Linked DNA regions of Homo sapiens: all the other regions are linked to region 1. The links are contacts of gene promoters, found by promoter capture Hi-C in blood cells and fetal thymus (Javierre and others, 2016). All regions are on one chromosome and are shown on one strand. The core of a region is centred on a gene start or on the middle of the fragment in contact, and the rest is flanking DNA. Distances in the headings are between cores, read along the strand shown.

Region 1 (4,767 bases), core at 826-3,325:
CAGCCTGGCCAAGATGGTGAAATCCCGTCTCTACTAAAAATACAAAAATTAGCTGGGTGTGGTGGCGGGCACCTGTAATCTCAGCTACTCGGGAGGCTGAGGCAGAGAATTGCTTGAACCCAGGAGGCAGAGGTTGCAGTGAGCCGAGATGGCACCACTGCACTCCAACCTGGGCGACACAGCAAGACTCCGTCTCAAAAACACACACACACACACACACACACACACACACACACATACACACATTAATCAGTTAATAAAGAGCCCTTCAATAATAACAGCAATCACTTCCCATTATGACAAAAACACATTCTAAAAAGTGCTCTCAACAGTGAAGACTTACTTCCAAATCCATTAATCCTCTGCCGTCCAGACTTTAAAACTGTTACTTAAGGCTGGCAACCAGATTTTCCTCTACTGCACCCCTTTAATGGGCCAAATTTCACCTGTTACAGACTCAGAAGGCAAGACCTAAAAGGTGTACTCTGCTGGGGCTGTCCTGGGGACAGACTGGTCTCTCCTCTCACTGCCAAAAACACCTATCACCAAGAAGCCAGGATTTCACTCTCCCATTTATGCTATTCAGTAAGGGCGCCTCCTGTCACAAAGTACAATTCTAGATTCACCCTGGGAATGGAGTCATTTAGCTTACACCACAGCCCGCGGGTAGGTGAGTCGCCACAGCCGGCTCAGTAACCCCATCCCAGTCAGGGCCACAAGGCTCAAGTTGATGTCAGCCGTCACCACTACAGGGCGCTTCAAAAATCCCCACATCTTGTAGAAAAGCGGGCTCAGGCAGACGCCCTAGAAAAGAAGGGAGGAGCCGTGGTCCATGAGGGCTCACGAGAGGCTACAGAAGGGATCCCCAGCCACCCGGCTCCCGGACACACGAGGAGAACCACAGCACAGCCGGGCTGCTGAGAAAGACCGAAGTTCCTGGAGCCTTGGTTCAGGTAGACATGTGGGGTGAGGGGCACTAGCAGTGAACTCGGGTGGGAATTCAGGGGATCTCAGGACTGGACATTCACTCCTTTCAACAACTCATTCCACAAAACCTGCCGAGCACGTCTTGGGCGCGAGAACACTGCTAAGGAACGCCAGGGTTTCTCCCCTCCCTCCCCGACGACCAGAAGCCCACAGTGCGGCCACAGCTACCTGACCCTGGGCAGCTCCTGGGTGCCATCTCAGCTGCTTACAGCCCAGGGACCCCAACCTGGCCGAGCCTCGGGGCCTCCTCATCTCTCCTCAAGGATGCATCTGCCCCCAGTGCCTCCCTGCCTTCTATCCCAGCGGCACATCATCCCCGGGTGCTCCCTTTCTCGCCTGGAGGGTGCATTTGCACCCTGCGCCCCCACGTTCTCCTCCAGGCTTCATCTTCCCTTGAGCTCCGCTTCTCTTGAGGCTGCATCAGGCCTGGGACACCCTGTCTCACACCAAAGCCGCATCTGGCCGTTGGCGCCCCGCTGGTCTCCTCAGGCCCCATCTACCCTGGACGCGCCCTTCCCTCCCTGAGCTGCATCTGCCTTGAGCGCCTTCGTCCCAAAAGGTCCCATCTGTCCTGGGAGTGCCTCCTCTCCCCTTGCAGACCGCATCTCCCTGGCCGGCCCTTCTTCCCCACAGGCCGCACCTGTCCCGTCCACCAACTCCCGAGGCTGCGTCGGCCCCAGCTCCGTCCTCACCCTGAGACTGCACCCGCAGCACGCCCTTCCTCCCTAGGGCTGCACGCGCCACGGAGTTCTTACTTCGGGGCTCGGCCGCCCGAACGCCGCATCTGCCCGGGCCCGAACCCCGCCCCCAGCTCCGGAAAGACGGGGACGCCCCCGGCCCCAGCCCGTCCGCAAGCCAGGGACCCGCGTCCGGCACTGACGGACTCCCCCAAGTCCGGGCTGGGCTCTCGTCCCCGGTGTCCCCAAATGTACCCGCGTTTCTCCGAGTCCACACAGAGCCGCGCCCGGCTCCCGGCAACGCCTCGGAACCGTCCGACTGGGCCGACGGTTGGGGGTGAGGCCGCTCGGCACTCCGCACCACCCACCGCCCTGCTCAACGTTCGATTCACCGAGCCTGCGGGGCCAGACGGGCAGCAGCGCGCGTGCGCACTGGGAGAGGGTGACGCGCGTGCGCAGCGGGCGAGGGCGCCGGTCCCGGAGGAGAGGCAGGTGTGAAACGCGGCGACCTCCCCTCTCTCGGGTGCTACTGTTTTGTGTGCCAGGATTTCTGTGTACTCTAAGCAGACGTGCAGATTTTAAAAAGCGCAGTGGGCTCCCACCCATCTTCTGCTCCTTGCTTTTTCACTCCATCTGGCGTGAAGATCTTAATTCTGCGTCTGCACAACGGCGTTCTGCCGGGCGCGCCAGTTTGCTCCTAGTTTTTTTCTTTTCTTTTCTTTTCTTTTTTTTTGAGACGGAGTTTCGCTCTTGTTGCCCAGGCTGGAGTGCAATGGCGCGATCTCGGCTCACCGCAACCTCCGCTTCCCGGGTTCAAGCGATTCTCCTGCCTCAGCCTCCCGAGTAGCTGAGATTGAAGGCGCACGCCACCACGCCCGGTTAATTTTTGTATTTGTAGTAGAGACAGGGTTTCACCATGTTGGCCAGGCTGGTCTCGAACTCCTGACCTGAAGTGATCCGCCCACCTCGGCCTCCCAAAGTGCTGGGATTACAGGCGTGAGCCACTGCGTCCGACCTTAATTTTTTTTTTAAGACACGGGGTCTCGCTCTGTCGCCCAGGCTGGAGTACAGTGGCAGGACCACGGCTTGCTGCAGCCTCGACCTCTCTGCCCGAAGCGATCCTCCCTCCTCGGCCTCCAGAGCAGCTGAGACCACAGGCACGTGCCCCCACGCCCGCGGGCGCTCCTAGTTTCCTTGCCGAAAAACATCGATGCCACGATCCTGCTTGCACATACATCTAGCGGTGAAGTGGCTGAGGGTAAGGGCATTTAAAACGGACCTAGGGCCGGGGGCGGTGGCTCACGCCTGTAACCCCAGCACTTTGGGTGGCCGAGGTGGGAGGATCCGTGAGCCCGCTTGAGTCCAGGAGAGCCTGGGCAACACAGCGAGACCCCGTCTCTACAAAAAAATACAAAAATTAGCGGGGCCCCTTGGCGTCTGCCTGCAGTCCCAGCTACAAGGGAGGCTGAGGCAGGAGATCACTTGGGGCAGAGAGGTCGAGGCTGCAGTGAGCCTTGGTCTCACCACTGCACTCCAGCCTGGACTACAAAGTGAGACCGTCTCAAAACAAAAAACAAAACCAAAAAAACCTGGACATCAGTGGGGGCTGCATGACCATCAGAGGCTCCAGTGGGGGCATCTCCCCTAAACTCCGTGGCAGAAGACTGGAGGCTTCTTCCTCCATTCCCAGGGCTCCTCCTCATCCATCAGCCTCTCCAGCCCCCTCTGCTGAGGGTCAAGAGCCTTCCCAAAGGCCTGCTTTGGAGCAGACATGGTACTTTTGGTTGGGTCAATGCACCCCTTCCCATGTTTTCCCTGAACAGTCGGCACCCAGAGCAGGGTAACTGACAGCAACGCAACCAGGCTGATGGATCACTCTTCTCAGCCTCGCTCCTTCTTGATCTCCTGGTCTATTTGTATGTTAATCTATACAGACCAAAAGGGCACACTGCAGGTTTAATAACCTTCATTATGGTTCTTGGCTGCCTGCAAGACTTTTTTTCCATGTTGGGCAACATAGCATTAGATGACACCAGTTAGAATTTCGTGGTTACTTCTTTATGGCTTACCCTTGAGGGGTTATGTGACTCACCCAAGATCCCACAGAGAGGCAAGGAGCTGGGGCTCACCTGGGTTTGTGGCCAGAGCCTGCAGGCAACTGTATTTACAGTGGGCAGGGAGGGTTCCCTGGGCCCCAGGAGGGAGTGGGGCTGGGCTGTTAAGCTTTGGTTCATGCCATGCTAACAGTGGTGGTGCCTCAGGACTTACAGCCTCCATCTTGCAAGCCCCCAACCTTAGGACTAGCCTCTTTCAGGGCTGGTCTCCGTTTGAGATTTTGTGAGCCACCTGTCCCTAGGGAGCAGTAAATCAGGGCAGTGAGTGTGGCTAGTTAAAGCTGAGATGCCCATGGCCAGGTCCCCAACTCTCTTCCATAGTCAAAAGGCTTAGAAGGAAGTTGAGGGACTGGGGTTCCTCATGGAAACAGCGTTTTATTTCTTGGGGGTAATTTATAAGTTTTCTTAGCTGGTTCTAGGCACTAAGCTAAAAGCTACTGGTGACTTTGAATCCACACTACGCCATGAGGTCGATACCATTACAATCTGTGTTTTATGATTAAGGAGACTGACTCAGGTGGTGAAACGTCTTTCCCCAGGTCAGTGAGGCAATGGCAAAACCGAGAACTGCTGCCTCAGCCCATTCTTACCTTTTACCCTTCGCTACCCCAGGCCTGGCTTGCTCCCTCCCCACCCCAAAGCACAGCATAATCCTCCTCCACTTCCTGCAAAAGCACCGCTAGAAGTGACAACACAACACGCCACATCAAATGCTTACCTCCTCTGACCAGCTCGTTTCTCACGGCAAGTGACGGGGCCACAGGCAGGCACTGTGCACAACCAGATGCCATCCGTGGGAAGAGGGTGGAGTGCTTGATGCTGCCGCATTTGGAAGATGCTTCTTAGCCACGGGTTTCAATCCCTTCTCTACCCACACAGCTTCTGTTAAGGCATTTCAGCCGTGCCACTCCTAATTTCCGTGTGAACTCTGTAAAATTAGAATTCTTTGATCTGTAGGTCTCTCTGGTCAAATGACCAAGAAACGAGGG
Region 2 (4,767 bases), core at 957-3,456, 780 kb before region 1:
AGGTGCCTTTTTTGACCACCTGTTTCTAGTGGTAATTACAGTGAAAGTGAGTATTTTTAACAGATATTGCTAGGCATTTGTGTGTTTATTCGTCTTTTTCAGTATGTATATATTGAGTGCCACCATAATTCAGGCACTGTTTAGGGGCTGGGGTTATGACAGTGAAGAAAACAGACAAAATCCCTGCCCTTATGGTGTTTGTATTCTAGGGGTTAACAGTGAGTCAGTTACTAAAAAGTGGTATATGGTTTGTATACATGTATATGTTTATGTGTATATGTACGTGGGTTTGGTTTTGTTTAAAGGTGGCAAAATCATTCTGTGCAGAATTGGTTTTTTTTTCAATCAGTAAATCAGGGACATCCTCCCATGTCAGAATATATATTAATAAATCTATGTCATTTGTAGAATGGACTAAGGTTTTGTCTGGAGGTAGATGCGTTACCTTACATAACTTCCTTTTCTGTTTCCCCAAAGAAAAGATTAAAAATTAGGTTTTGTGAGCTAACGCAGATAAACTTTTGAGGATTTAGGGAAAATTGGCATGTATCTATTAATAATTATTTTATGCTTTCACAAACCTGTTTAAAATCACACATATAAATAGGTTAAGAAGTAATGCCTTTCTTCCACTCCCATAGTTTGTGAAACAAGTTTATTCAGGCTTTGCACGTCTTCAGTGCCAGTATCTTTCACATCACTCATGAAGATTCCATCATCTTAGTGAAGTTTTCAGCACATTTTTACTTCAGGGTTATTTAAGATAAAGTACTTTTTGAAACTTTTCTTTTTTAATTATACTTTAAGTTCTAGGGTACATGTTCACAACATGCAGGTTTGTTACATATGTATACATGTGCCATGTTGGTGTGCTGCACCCATTAACTCGTCATTTACATTAGGTGTATCTCCTAATGCTATCCCTCCCCCTCCCCTTTTTGAAACTTTCTGTGTTGCTGCCATCGGAAAGTAGATCCCAAGGCACAACTGTGGTAACATCAAGACAGTTTATCCCACTTGTCACTTAGGTCACTGTTTTTCAGATTGCAGAATATAACCCATTATTTGGTTTGTGAAATCCATTTAGCACAGCTTCGGCGTTCCTAATTCAAAAATTTGAAATGCTTCACCATCTGAAACTTCCCAAGTGCTGACTTTATGCTTAAAGTTCACGCTCGAAGGATATGCTCATTGGAGTATTTTGGATTTTTGGATTAGGGATGGTCAACACATAAGTCGAGTCTGTTTCCTTCACTGGAAATTAAGTCCTGTGAGACTTCATCTTATTCACTCTAGTGGTCTTAGCACTTCAAATTATAGATGCTTAGTACATATTAGATGGATGAATGAAGAATTTTGTCTTCAAAAGGCTTGTTTACAGTGGCATTCAATATGTCTGTCTGTGAGGGTGTACCCCCAGAAATAATTGTTAAAATCTGTGTTACATTTCCTTTATTACTGGTTTTTTTGGGTGGCGTCTTGTAGCATCAAAATAGCATCAGTTGTCTTTCACAAGATCATATCTCTTTCATTAGCAGTATATGAGTAGAAAAGACCTCCACATATATTCAAGATTCATGGCATTTTGGCCAGGTGTGGTGGCTCATTCCTGTTATCCCAGCTACTCAGGAGGCCAGAGACATGAGAATCGCTTGAACCTGGGAGGTGAAGGATGCAGTGAGCTGAGATCACGCCACTGCACTCCAGCCTGGGTGACAGAGCGAGACTGTGTCTCCAAAAAAAAAAAAAAAAAAAAAAAAAAAAAAAAAAGATTCATGGCATTTTGAGGCTCAGAGTCAGAAACACCTTTTTTCTCTGAAGCTGTGGTTGGTAATCTTATGCTACCTGAACGTTGCCATATACGTATTAGATCTCAGTAATTGTGTTTATAATAGTGGGAAAGATATAAATGAATTCTTGGAAACTGTTGCTTTATTTTGCCCCTCACAGAAAGCACAGGAGTATGGCTACGACCAGTCAATGATGGCTCGCTTCTGCAGACTGCTGGAAGAGAATGTAGAACACAACATGATCAGCAGGCTGCCCATTCTACAGCTCACTGTTCAGTACAGGATGCATCCAGACATATGCCTCTTCCCTTCTAATTATGTTTATAACAGAAACTTAAAAACAAATAGGTGAGTTCCCCTTATTGTTTGTGACCTTATTTTGTTGTAGTTTAGCTACTTATGAAGAATAGACATTTTACTGTCGTCTTAGGTCTTGTCATAAAAAGCATAAATCATGAAGGGTTAATAATTTTGTCCTGTTATAATAGCCATCATGTTGAATACAGCAAAGCACATAAAAAAGAAAAGGGGAAAAAGTCACCTATATTTATACTACCCAGAAATAATCACTGGTAACATTTTGGTATATCCACTTTCAGCAGTCCTTTTTTTTTTTTTTTTTTTTTTTGAAGACAGGGTCTCATTCTGTCACTCACACAGGATGAGTGCAGTGGCACACAGTCCTGGCTCACTGCAGCTTCGACCTCCCAGGCTCAATCAATCCACCTGCCTCAGCCTCCTGAGTAGCTGGGACTACACTCAGTCACCACCATGCCTGGCTAATTTTTGTATTTTTCTTTTTGTAGAAACGGGGTTTCGCTATGTTGCCCAGGCTGCTTTCGAACTCCTGAGCTCAAGCAATCCACCCGCCTTGGTCTCCCAAAGTGCTGGGATTACAGGCGAGAGTCACCGCACCTGGCCAAGTTTCAGTCCTTTTACTATGCATATCTTTTTTTACTTTTTAAATTTTTGAAGGAAAAATGTGGGACCATACTTAACATAGTATTCTGTGGCTTACTCTATTATGAGTGTCTTTCCAATCATACTTGTTATATTTTAATGATATAGACACCTCTCCCAGCACCAGGAAAGAAATAGAATTTGTTTTGTACCTTTCACTAATACACGTCTAGAAAAGAATATTCCTGCTATCCCCTTACTTGCCCCAGCCCACATCACCACACAGAAAAAATTGTAGTAATACCAAGATATTTTCTTAAATCTTGACTTTATTCTGAATGTTGACTGCTTTTTTTTTTTTACAGACAGACAGAAGCCATTCGATGTTCATCAGATTGGCCATTTCAGCCATACCTTGTGTTTGATGTTGGAGATGGTTCAGAAAGACGGGATAATGAGTATGTTTTCCTCTTGCCTCAGTCCTCTGATAGTCCCAGAATTGTTACATGATTTGCATTCATATTTCTGTTAAATACATTTCCTATACACATCTCTCTGCCTAGTGTCAGGGCACAGTCATGTTCACTTAAGTTGATGCTTCTTTTTTCTGTATAATGGGGATAATATTACCTAATGTCATAAGCAAGTGCTTGAGTAGATACTTGTTGAGCTCACAGCAGTGAGGGAAACAGACGTGCCCATTGCAAGATGGTGGTCTCATGGGAAGACAGGCCTTCAGCAGGTCATCACCTGGGTAAGCAGTTATTCCAGTTGGGTTAAGTACTGTGAAGGCTAAGTATAAATTCAGTTGAATGAAAATGTGAAAGGGAGGAAGGAAGTAGTGACAGAGGTTGGATGGTATTGGGTTGTGAATAAGGGCATGTGTTCAGGTGGTCTGTATATGACAGCAAAGAGGAGTGGTGTTGCTAGAAGCAGCAATGTCAGAGGAGCTGGGGATTCTTGTGAGAGAGTAGGGGAGGAATGGTCTAGGGGCAGCATTTGTTGGCACGGATACAAGTGCCACTCTGTCATGAAGTAGGAGGAAACACAAATCCCACTTCTACATCATGGGATGGCTGCAGAGCAGGTGGCGTCCTCAGGCGAGAATCAGGCGTTAGATAAGATACAGAGGTGGAAGTAGGGAACACTCATTGAAGAGGTTACACATACAGAGGAGTTGTTGGCCATGGGATTGTAGTGCTGGAGGGACTGCAGCCTAAAGGTTTTAATGAGGCCTCTTGGAGGAGAGCAGAGGATTGCGAGTTAAGCCGCAGAGCATCATGAGGATTTCAGGGATGGAAGAGATCGCTAGCTGATTGGGTTGTCCATTTAGTAAGTCTCAAAGTTAGGAGAATGGGTATTTAAGGCTCGTAAAGCAAGGCGGGTAAGGTAGCCTCAGGAATCAAGGGATGGGGCAGTGCATCCCCTGGTCTTGGTGCATTTTGGGTCCGGTATGGTCATGAGGGAGCATGTGTTTTCAGGAGGGGTTGAGAGTGCAGGATATGAGGCTGCTGAGGACTACAAAGAGGACATGAACCTGCTCCAGGGCCCCATGTTGTTCAACTGGGGTCAAGTGGGACACATCCTTCACATTGAGTCTGTGTGGATGGCAGCTGCTCGGTTGTGTGGTGTGTGTTGTATGCAGCCAGTGGTGAGGGACAAGGAAGATCATACATGTAAAGCATTTTCTCAGTGTTCGGAAGATAGTTAATCCTTAATTCATGTTAGCTATCTCTTATTCACATCTTTGTTCTTATTAATACTGCTGTTCTTAATACTGCTCTCCCTGTTTCAACAGATGAAGAAAGTGGTGCCTAAACTTCAGTTGATTTCAAACTCTTTTCTCTCTACAACTTCATTTTTCACTGGGCATTTCACATGTATTCATATTTACCATAGTATTTTCACATTTATTCATATATACCATATTAATGGTCATTGTAACAGCCTCTTGGAGTCACTGCTAGCTGAATAAAAGATGAAGCCTATCTGCCTGCCCTTTACTATAATGGGAAACAAACTCAGTGGAACTTAAGTTAGCAATTAGCCTGCTATTAGTTTTGATAACACTGTGTTT
Region 3 (4,767 bases), core at 1,122-3,621, 750 kb before region 1:
AGCTACTTGGGAGTCTGAGGCAGGAGAGTCGCTTGAACCCAGGAGGCGGAGGTTGCAGTGAGTAGAGATTGTGCCACTGCACTCCATCCTGGGTGACAGAGCAAGACTGTCCCAAACAACAACAACCAAAAAAAAAAAAAAAAAAAAAAAAAAAAATTCTGATTGCCTGGGATCCATCCTAGCATTACTGATTTACTGGTTTGGGGATGCAGCCCTTGGTATTCTTGTGGTGTTTTGTTTGTTTGGTGTTTGTTTTTTTGAGACGGAGTTTTGCTCTGTCACCCAGGCTGGAGTGCAGTGGTGCAATCTCGGCTCACTGCAACCTCCGCCTCCCGGGTTCAGGTGATTCTCCTGCCTCAGGCTCCCTAGTAGCTGAGATTACGGATTCCCACCACCATGCCCGGCTAATTTTTGTATTTTTAGTAGAGACGGGGTTTCACCATGTTGGCCAGGCTGGTCTCGAACTGCTGACCTCAGGTGATCCGCCTGCCTCGGCCTCCCAAAGTGCTGGGATTACAGGTGTGAGCCACCGCGCCCGGCCCCTCTTCGAAGCCTTTCGTAAACATTAACCCTAACAACACCCCGAGGTTCCCTGGATACTTTCCCTTTGCTTAGGAGAGCATTGGTGAGGACTTGGGCTGTGGGCCCATTCACCTGTGGGTCTGTGGCACGCTAGCCCGCCTGGTGCCCCTTCCTGCCTCCAGGAGGACGCAGCTGCACCCAGACGGCCAGAGCAGAGCGGGCAAGATTTCATCCTCCCCGTGCTCTTCAGCTCCTCGGCTTGTGCGGAGAACCATACACACCGCCCCCGGTGGCCGTGGGCGGGACTGCAGCTGCCCCGCCCCTGTTAGGCGGATGTGCCTGGGCCTTCACTTCAGTAACTCCCACGTGTGACCCCAAGAGACAGGACACGCAAAGCCCATGCTTCTCAAAGGGCTGGAGGCAGAAACCCAGGGTCACCCCCCCACCAGGCTCCCTCAGACACCGGCTTTGCCACTGCTGAACTAGGATCACCAGCCTCCCATCCCCCTGCCCCTCTTCAGACCCCTGAAGCCGTAAGAGTCATTCCCCTGCCTCCTGCCTTAGCAGAACTGGGGCTCACCCTGCAGCCATTATTTATTATACACTCGCACCCACACACATGTGGAGTGCCCCTGCCTGGCTCACTTCTGTCTGCAATTCCTGGGCTCTCCAGCCTGGCCCCCTAGAATGTTCTTCATCCTTTTACCAGGCTCAGCTAGGAGGCCTCCCTGGGGAAGCTGGTCCCTGTCTGAAGAGGCCCATCTGCCACACTCTGACCCTGGCCCCACATCCCTTAGCCGGCTCCCAGGGCCAGAGCACAGTACGCCTTCCGCAGACAGGTGATGTTTCTTGTTATTTATTTTTTTATGTTGAGACCGAGTCTCGCTCTGTCGCCCAAGCTGGAATGCAGTGGCGCGATCTCGGCTCACTGCAACCTCCACCTCCCAGGTTCAAGCGATTCTCCTGCCTCAGCCTCCCGAGTAACTGGGATTACAGGCACGGGCCACCACGCCCGGCTAATTTTTGTATTTTTAGTAGAGACAGGGTTTCACCATGTTGATTAGCCTGGTCTCGAGTTCCTGACCTCGTGATCCACCCACCTCGGCCTCCCAAAGTGCTAGGATTACAGGCGTGAGCCACCACACCAGGCCTCTTGTGTTTTTTTTTTTTTAATTTCATAAAATATTTTCTTACAGGCTCCAGTAAACCTTCACCAATTTACATCAGTTCCTATTCCTCACCAGCAAGAGAACAAAATAGACGGCTACAGGTGAATTTGCAATATCATTTTTACAGAAGGCTGATTAGCAGTTAACACAGTAAGGGGTCCACGTCGATTGACTTCCCAGAGCTGGGCCAACACGGCAGGGTCCTAGATGCTTTCCCTGGGGATCTTCACTCCTTGGAAACTCACGTGTGGTTTAAGCAAAGCATTTCCACGGTAGCCTCACGTTCTTGAGTATCCACATCGGTACTGCTGAGACCACCGTGCCACTGATGGGGACAGCCGAGAAGTCTTTAGTTCATGTCTTTTGCCCAGCAGTGTCCTTTTCCCACTCTTTTTCTGTTAAGCTCTAAAATCTCTTCCAGCCTCTGGGTGAGGGAAGGTTGGTAAGCACACTTCATGCCCTCATCACATTGTTCTCTTTTGTGTATACCTCGTTCTCCATCTCGCCCCTCCCTGTCCAAGCTCCACAATTTAAAAACACTGAGTCCATCACGAGGTCTGTTTGTCTCAGTGGTCAAGGTGGACTCAGCCCCTGCCGGGATGGACCTCACTGTGGGAGAGTGGGACTGGCGGTTATAACACACCCAGGCTTTGCTTTCATGAAGGGCCTGCAGTCAGTCTCAGGTCCTTCCCAGTGCCTTGGTGAACTTGGACCATCTGGTCTCTCCTCTTCCCTTTCAATGACACAGAGCAGCTGGAGTTTCCTAAAACAAGACTGTATCCTGTCCTTCAGATAAGGATGCGTTCTAAGACCTCTCCTTCTCGTCATCTTTTCTGTTTTTGAGGCAGCTGTTTGTTTCTTTGTTTGTTTTGTTTGTTTTTTGAGATGGCGTCTTCGTCTGTCGCCCAGGCTGGAGTGCAGTGGCGCGATCTCGGCCTCCTGTTATTTTTTTAAAGGGAGCTATTTCACGCATACAGAGTAGGATAATAATAGTATAAGGAACACCCTGTACCCACCATTCCTGTTTCTTTACCTTAGATCTTTTACTTTTTAAGGAAATAAATGAAGAACTATAGATACAGTTGGAGCCCTGTGGCATGCTCTGTCCCTCTCTCCCTTTGCAGAAGTGACATGAGCCTGAGACCTCACTACATATGTGCGCAGCCATCATGTTTTCTTGGTGTGTTTTTAGCCCTCATATGAAAAGTGTTATACTGCATCCACCTTTCTGTGATATAGATTTTCCACCCAGCACTATGTTTTAAGATTTATCCATGAGGATTCATATGGCTCTAATGTGGTTCTTTTTGTTTGTTTGAGACGGAGTCTCGCTCTGTTGCCCAGGCTGGAGTGCAGTGGCGTGTTCAAGCAATTCCCAGGTTACTCCCAGGTTCCGCCTCCCAGGTTCAAGCAATTCTCCTGCCTCAGCCTCCTGAACAGCTAGGATTACAGGCGGCTGCCACCACGCCCGGCTAATTTTTGTATTTTTAGTAGAGACGGGGTTTCACCATGTTGACCAGGCTGGTCTTGAACTCCTGACCCCAAGTGATCCGCCCACCTGGGCATCCCAAAGTGCTAGGATTACAGGCGTGAGCCACTGTGCCCTGTCTAATGTGGTTCTTAGTTGGGCAATTCTGCCCCCTCAGGGGGACATTTGACAATATGTAGAGACATCTGTGGTTGTCACACGGGAGGATGCTATGGCGTCTCATGGGTAGAGGCTAGGGGTGCTGCTGAGCATCCTACTATAGGCAGGACAGTCCCCACGACAGGGTTATCCAGTCCCACGTGTCAGCCAGGCTCAGGGTGAGGATTCCTCTGCAGTTCACTCATTGGAAGAGCTAGAGAATTCCAGCATGGGAGCGGGCCACACATCCAGCTTCTCGGTCCTATGTGTTTGGGTTGTTTCCATTTTTCACTATTTTACTACTTTGGTGATCACTCTTGGCCGGGCGCGGTGGCTTACACCTGTAATCCCAGCACTTTGGGAGGCTGAGGCATGTGGATCACAAGGTCAGGAGTCGGAGACCATCCTGGCCAACATGGTGAAACCCTGTCTCTACTAAAAATACAAAAATTACCCGGGTGTGGTGGCGTGCACCTGCAATCTCAGCTACTTGGGAGGCTGAGGCAGGAGAACTGCTTGAACCCAGGAGGTGGAGGTTGCACTGAGCCAAGATTGCACCACTGCACTCCAGACTGGGCAACGGAGTGAGACTCCATTTCAAAAAAAAGAAAAAAAAGAAAAATTCTCCAAATATTTTCCATGTTAATCTTTTAAGTATCACATTTATTTCCAATATTTTATCTTGCTCTGTGGCTTGTGCTTCTTTACTGATGTCTTTTGTTGTACAGAAGGTTTTTATTTTATTTTATTTTTGAGATGAAGTCTCGCTCTGTTGCCCAGGCTGGAATGGAGTGGCGTGATCTCGGCTTACTGCAACCTCCACCTCCCAAGTTCAAGAGATTGTCATGCCTCAGCCTCCCAAGTAGCTGGGATTACAGGCGTGAGCCACCACGCCTGGCTGGTTTTTATTTTAATGTAGTTGAATTAATCAATCTCCTAAGTGTTTTAAAGCCTCACTTTTCTCATTTATGTCTTTAACCACTTGAATTTATTTTTGGGCATGGTATGTGGAAGGGATAGAATTTTTCTCCTCACTTCTCATAAATGCAACCACATCAGTCTAGCTCTATTAATAGTCATTCAACATTTTTTGTTTCTTTCTTTCTTTTTTTTTTTTTTTGATACAGAGTCTTGCTCTGTCACCCAGGCTGGAGTGCAGTGGCACAATCTCTGCTCACTGCAACCTCCGCCTCCAGGGTTCCAGTGACTCTCTTGCCTCAGCCTCCTGAGTAGCTGGGATTACAGGCACCTGCCACCAGGCCCAGCTAATTTTTGTTTTTGTTTTCTTTTGAGATGGAGTCTCACTCTGTCGCCCAGGCTGGACTGCAGTGGCACAATCTCTGCTCACTGCAGCCTCCGCTGCCCTGGATCCAGAGATTCTCCTGCCTCAGCCTCCTGGGGAGCTGGGATTAAAGGCATGTGTCATCACATGTGGCTAATTTTTGTACT

The links. Contacts are between HindIII fragments. The CHiCAGO score rates a contact against its expected background, and 5 or more counts as called.
Region 2: a fragment that was not itself captured here is called in contact with the fragment with the promoter of POMT1 in region 1 in 1 of 17 cell types (M2 macrophages); the score reaches 5.9 in M2 macrophages.
Region 3: a contact is called between a fragment that was not itself captured here and the fragment with the promoter of POMT1 in region 1, in 1 of 17 cell types (M0 macrophages). The highest score is 5.0, in M0 macrophages.

Annotation. Positions count from the first base shown.
Region 1 is chr9:131,500,226-131,504,992 of GRCh38, reverse strand. POMT1 (protein O-mannosyltransferase 1) reads right to left here and starts at 2,075. Exons shown (of 20, transcript NM_001077365.2): 1 at 1,920-2,075; 2 at 653-804. The coding sequence starts at 774. RefSeq lists enhancers at 485-554, 565-644, 1,125-1,184, 556-1,421, 1,422-2,289 and 1 more and silencers at 1,755-1,904, 1,975-2,174. The HindIII fragment of the contact is 12,581 bases long and covers 1-3,889 here.
Region 2 is chr9:132,275,441-132,280,207 of GRCh38, reverse strand. It overlaps SETX (senataxin), which reads left to right. Exons shown (of 26, transcript NM_015046.7): 21 at 1,951-2,138; 22 at 3,056-3,148. Among named protein-coding and RNA genes, the nearest start is that of SETX, 77 kb to the left of the region's middle. The HindIII fragment of the contact is 5,265 bases long and covers 1-4,767 here.
Region 3 is chr9:132,255,407-132,260,173 of GRCh38, reverse strand. No RefSeq gene overlaps it. Among named protein-coding and RNA genes, the nearest start is that of NTNG2, 96 kb to the right of the region's middle. The HindIII fragment of the contact is 7,993 bases long and covers 1-4,767 here.